Linked DNA regions of Homo sapiens: region 1 is linked to region 2. The links are contacts of gene promoters, found by promoter capture Hi-C in blood cells and fetal thymus (Javierre and others, 2016). All regions are on one chromosome and are shown on one strand. The core of a region is centred on a gene start or on the middle of the fragment in contact, and the rest is flanking DNA. Distances in the headings are between cores, read along the strand shown. Region 1 overlaps TP53 (tumor protein p53). Region 2 holds the start of SLC2A4 (solute carrier family 2 member 4).

What was found. The method cuts DNA at HindIII sites, captures the fragments that hold promoters and counts their contacts. A CHiCAGO score of 5 or more calls a contact.
Region 1: a contact is called between a fragment that was not itself captured here and the fragment with the promoter of SLC2A4 in region 2, in 2 of 17 cell types (neutrophils and activated CD4 T cells). The highest score is 5.6, in neutrophils.

What each region holds. Positions count from the first base shown.
Region 1 is chr17:7,674,776-7,677,475 of GRCh38, reverse strand. TP53 (tumor protein p53) reads left to right here. Exons shown (of 11, transcript NM_000546.6): 2 at 854-955; 3 at 1,073-1,094; 4 at 1,204-1,482; 5 at 2,240-2,423; 6 at 2,505-2,617. The coding sequence starts at 882. Among named protein-coding and RNA genes, the nearest start is that of TP53, 11 kb to the left of the region's middle. RefSeq lists an enhancer at 1-507. The HindIII fragment of the contact is 2,678 bases long and covers 112-2,700 here.
Region 2 is chr17:7,280,468-7,283,167 of GRCh38, reverse strand. SLC2A4 (solute carrier family 2 member 4) reads right to left here and starts at 1,450. Exons shown (of 11, transcript NM_001042.3): 1 at 1,201-1,450. The coding sequence starts at 1,233. RefSeq lists an enhancer at 217-1,204 and a silencer at 1,337-1,486. The HindIII fragment of the contact is 20,977 bases long and covers 1-2,700 here.

The DNA.
Region 1 (2,700 bases), core at 201-2,700, 390 kb before region 2:
AGATTAAAGAAGCCGAGACGGGCCATTCGTGAGGGGTTTGTAATGCAGGGCTGAGGAGTGTCCGAAGAGAATGGGCAGGTGAGCGGTGAGACAGTTGTTCTTCCAGAAGCTTTGCAGTGAAAGGAATCAAAGAAATGGAGCCGTGTATCAGGTGGGGAAGGGTGGGGGCCAAGGGGGTGTCCTTCCCCATACAGAGATTGCAGGCTGAGAATGACTATATCCTTGTTAACAGGAGGTGGGAGCAGGGCACGGTAGCTCACACCTGTAATCTTGGCACTTTAGGAGGCTGAGGCGGGCCGATCACCTGAAGTAAGGAGTTCGAGACCAGCCTGGCCAACATGCAAAGCCCTGTCTCTACTAAAAATACAAAAATTAGCTGGGTGTGGTGGTACTCGCCTGTAATCCCAGCTACTCGGGAGACTGAGGCAGGAGAATGGCTTGAACCCGGAAGGTAGAGGTTGCAGTGAGCTGAGATCATGCCACTGTGCTCCAGCCTAGGTGACAGAGAGAGACTCCATCTCAAAAAAAAAAAAAAAATACAGGAAGGGAGTTGGGAATAGGGTGCACATTTAGGAAGTCTTGGGGATTTAGTGGTGGGAAGGTTGGAAGTCCCTCTCTGATTGTCTTTTCCTCAAAGAAGTGCATGGCTGGTGAGGGGTGGGGCAGGAGTGCTTGGGTTGTGGTGAAACATTGGAAGAGAGAATGTGAAGCAGCCATTCTTTTCCTGCTCCACAGGAAGCCGAGCTGTCTCAGACACTGGCATGGTGTTGGGGGAGGGGGTTCCTTCTCTGCAGGCCCAGGTGACCCAGGGTTGGAAGTGTCTCATGCTGGATCCCCACTTTTCCTCTTGCAGCAGCCAGACTGCCTTCCGGGTCACTGCCATGGAGGAGCCGCAGTCAGATCCTAGCGTCGAGCCCCCTCTGAGTCAGGAAACATTTTCAGACCTATGGAAACTGTGAGTGGATCCATTGGAAGGGCAGGCCCACCACCCCCACCCCAACCCCAGCCCCCTAGCAGAGACCTGTGGGAAGCGAAAATTCCATGGGACTGACTTTCTGCTCTTGTCTTTCAGACTTCCTGAAAACAACGTTCTGGTAAGGACAAGGGTTGGGCTGGGGACCTGGAGGGCTGGGGACCTGGAGGGCTGGGGGGCTGGGGGGCTGAGGACCTGGTCCTCTGACTGCTCTTTTCACCCATCTACAGTCCCCCTTGCCGTCCCAAGCAATGGATGATTTGATGCTGTCCCCGGACGATATTGAACAATGGTTCACTGAAGACCCAGGTCCAGATGAAGCTCCCAGAATGCCAGAGGCTGCTCCCCCCGTGGCCCCTGCACCAGCAGCTCCTACACCGGCGGCCCCTGCACCAGCCCCCTCCTGGCCCCTGTCATCTTCTGTCCCTTCCCAGAAAACCTACCAGGGCAGCTACGGTTTCCGTCTGGGCTTCTTGCATTCTGGGACAGCCAAGTCTGTGACTTGCACGGTCAGTTGCCCTGAGGGGCTGGCTTCCATGAGACTTCAATGCCTGGCCGTATCCCCCTGCATTTCTTTTGTTTGGAACTTTGGGATTCCTCTTCACCCTTTGGCTTCCTGTCAGTGTTTTTTTATAGTTTACCCACTTAATGTGTGATCTCTGACTCCTGTCCCAAAGTTGAATATTCCCCCCTTGAATTTGGGCTTTTATCCATCCCATCACACCCTCAGCATCTCTCCTGGGGATGCAGAACTTTTCTTTTTCTTCATCCACGTGTATTCCTTGGCTTTTGAAAATAAGCTCCTGACCAGGCTTGGTGGCTCACACCTGCAATCCCAGCACTCTCAAAGAGGCCAAGGCAGGCAGATCACCTGAGCCCAGGAGTTCAAGACCAGCCTGGGTAACATGATGAAACCTCGTCTCTACAAAAAAATACAAAAAATTAGCCAGGCATGGTGGTGCACACCTATAGTCCCAGCCACTTAGGAGGCTGAGGTGGGAAGATCACTTGAGGCCAGGAGATGGAGGCTGCAGTGAGCTGTGATCACACCACTGTGCTCCAGCCTGAGTGACAGAGCAAGACCCTATCTCAAAAAAAAAAAAAAAAAAGAAAAGCTCCTGAGGTGTAGACGCCAACTCTCTCTAGCTCGCTAGTGGGTTGCAGGAGGTGCTTACGCATGTTTGTTTCTTTGCTGCCGTCTTCCAGTTGCTTTATCTGTTCACTTGTGCCCTGACTTTCAACTCTGTCTCCTTCCTCTTCCTACAGTACTCCCCTGCCCTCAACAAGATGTTTTGCCAACTGGCCAAGACCTGCCCTGTGCAGCTGTGGGTTGATTCCACACCCCCGCCCGGCACCCGCGTCCGCGCCATGGCCATCTACAAGCAGTCACAGCACATGACGGAGGTTGTGAGGCGCTGCCCCCACCATGAGCGCTGCTCAGATAGCGATGGTGAGCAGCTGGGGCTGGAGAGACGACAGGGCTGGTTGCCCAGGGTCCCCAGGCCTCTGATTCCTCACTGATTGCTCTTAGGTCTGGCCCCTCCTCAGCATCTTATCCGAGTGGAAGGAAATTTGCGTGTGGAGTATTTGGATGACAGAAACACTTTTCGACATAGTGTGGTGGTGCCCTATGAGCCGCCTGAGGTCTGGTTTGCAACTGGGGTCTCTGGGAGGAGGGGTTAAGGGTGGTTGTCAGTGGCCCTCCAGGTGAGCAGTAGGGGGGCTTT
Region 2 (2,700 bases), core at 201-2,700:
GCTGGAGCCTGAAGATACTGGGCTCCACCCAACATGTTGGGTGAGGGAAACTGGGCCATATTAGGAATTGCACAAAGATCTCAATGTAAACAGGAGCTGAACTGCAACCTGGGCATAAAGGAGAAACTGGATGTTTGGGTCCATAAGGCAGAGAAATGTTTGAGAACTTGTCTCAAAATTCTTCTGTGACCTTGAGACAGGCTTGGCCTTAAGAGCTCAGATTTGTGTGACCTTGGCCAAGTCACTTCCCTGCCCCGAACCTGAGTGTCCTCTGTGAGATGGGGGTGATGTTGCCTGCCTTGCCTACCTATCTGTGAGAGTGTTGTGAAAATCAACATCACATGTTAACAATATCCTTGACAGTGCTGGTTTCATAAATTAACACGTGCATTATTATCATCAGCCACTGTCCTCTTCCCTCCCCTCTGGGGGTTCTGTCAGCCAGCTCCAGGAGGCCCCCAACAGGACCAAGAAGTGCTGTTCCAGAAAGGACATCCCGGTCATCTAGGGGTGGCCTTCTCTATCTACGTCGTGGCCTGCCCTCCCCCTCTAACCTCCGTGCAGGGAGGGCCGTCCAGGGGTTCTGCCTGGGAGAGCCATGCCCAGGGGAGGAGGGCAGGAAGGTAGTGTGAGGGGCGGTGGCAGTGGTGGCCGCTCGCTGGCGGCACAGACTGTCTCCAAGCGGAAACCTGAGCTGGAGGAGGGGGGGCTGACAGTCCCCTCTGCCCCTCCACCAACCATGGGGCCAAGGGAAAGTTCAGCGTCCTGGAGGGCGGCCAGGAGTGGGGGTGGGGGCCCACGGAGAGCCTCCGGTCCTCGAAACACTGCCCGTGAGCGAAGACGGACGGACAGCTCCCGGAGGGCAAGACCCGCCTGGATCTGCTTTCCCGAGTCGGATCGAGGGCAGGGTGTCCCCGATTCCGGAGCGCCGCGCCGCCTACTAGGCAAGGGGGTGAACCCTGGCTCGCAGAATCCACTTGCTGCCTGTGCCCCGAAAGGCCCTCCAGACCCACTCTGCCTTTTGGTAGGATTGGAATCTCACAGTCACGGGTTGTCCAGGCCGGGTATAAATAGCCAGCCCCCTACCTTCACCCCCTGCGCCTGCGCAGGAACCACCCCCAGCTGACCCCAACCGCGACCCCAGCCCAAGAAAAGCGGGACCCGTGCCCCCCCGCCCCGCCCCCTCATGATGAATCCTACTTCGGAGCCTATCTGTTGGAAGCCCGACGGCATCTCGTCTTAGAAGAGCTGGACGCGCAGGGGCGGCGAAGATGAAAGAACCGATCCTGGAGTCTCTGACTCCGGCCTGGAGCGCAGAACCTGCGGAGGCCGCGGGGGTCCCGGAGTGACGTGCGAGGGCGGGCCCGATGGGACCCACAGCCACAAGCCAAGGACCCGGAGAGCAGTGGGGCTCCCGCGGATCTGGTGGAGCGGGGCTGGGGGAAAAGACGCGAGAAGCCCCCGCCACCTCGCTCCTGCCCCCGCGGGCCACGCCCTTCACAGCACCCATTGGCCAGGAGCCCGCACACCCCAGAAGGCCACGCCCCCTCCGCCTGGGGTTTAGAGTTTGGCTGGAGTTGGTGGGGCGGGCCAATGAGGCCACGCCCCTCCGCGTGGCTGGCGAGACACGCCTCTCGGGTTCCCGCCAGCCTCCGACTGGGAAGTTTTGAGAAAAGAGTCCCTGGAACAAAAGGCCCCGCCCACCCACGTGTTAGGACTCCGCCCACCAGCTAGGATCCCGGGCTGCAGAAGCATCTTAAACTCTGCGGGTCTGGACAGTGGGGTCTGAGAGGAGAGGACGGGCCAGGTGTACTTGCCCCGGGGAAACTCCAGCGGCCTGAGACGGCTCGCGAGCCGGCGCGCGGGTTGGGAGAGGAGCAATGCCCCAAAGTAACCCGGGGCTGCTATTTTTAGCTCCCACGTTGGGAGCCTCCAAATGTCAGGTCCCGGGCGTCCCGGCCTGTCCCAGGCGGGGGCGGAGAGACAGGGAGATGACGCCTTAAAGAGTCCGCGACATGCTTCCCACGCGAGTGTGGCCCTGGGGGCCAGGAAATTCCGTTCCCACAACGGGTCTGGTGGCCGGGCTGCTTGGTCCTGTCTTTCAGCGCCTCCCTGCTCCGGGCACTGTCTATCCCGCCCTTCCCCTACACACATTCCCCAGGTTGGTTCCTGGAGCCGGTCCGAGGGACAAGTGGTCACAACCGACCACACCACCAGCCCTGAGGTCTCTGAGCCTCTGAGGTCTCTGAGCATATGCTGGCCGCGTGAACGACACGCTCTCTGGAGGCTGCTCCGGGTTTGGATCCTCGGCCAAATTCTGCCAGGCAGAAAGTGCGCGACCTAGGGTCGGCGTGTGGGGAGAGAGAAGCCGAAATACCCAGAGCGTGGAGAGTGTCTGGCTCAGAAAACGGGCTTCGGAAGCGCAGGGTTGTGCTGCCACCTGGAGGGCGAGCGAGGAGCCGCAGTGGATTGCACTTGGAATCTCAACCCACTATTTCTCGCCTTTCCGCCACCATAGGGCTTCAGTGACATCTGACCCAGGCCCTTCTCTGGAGCTGCAGATCCAGGTGTTCGTTACCGCCCGGATGTGGCAGCTCTAGTGATCAGCATGTCCAAACCTGCTCCTCCTCCTAACTTCCTTATTTCAATGAATTACCCGCCCAGTCACCCCTATGGTAGAAGTCAGGCTCGATTCCTCCT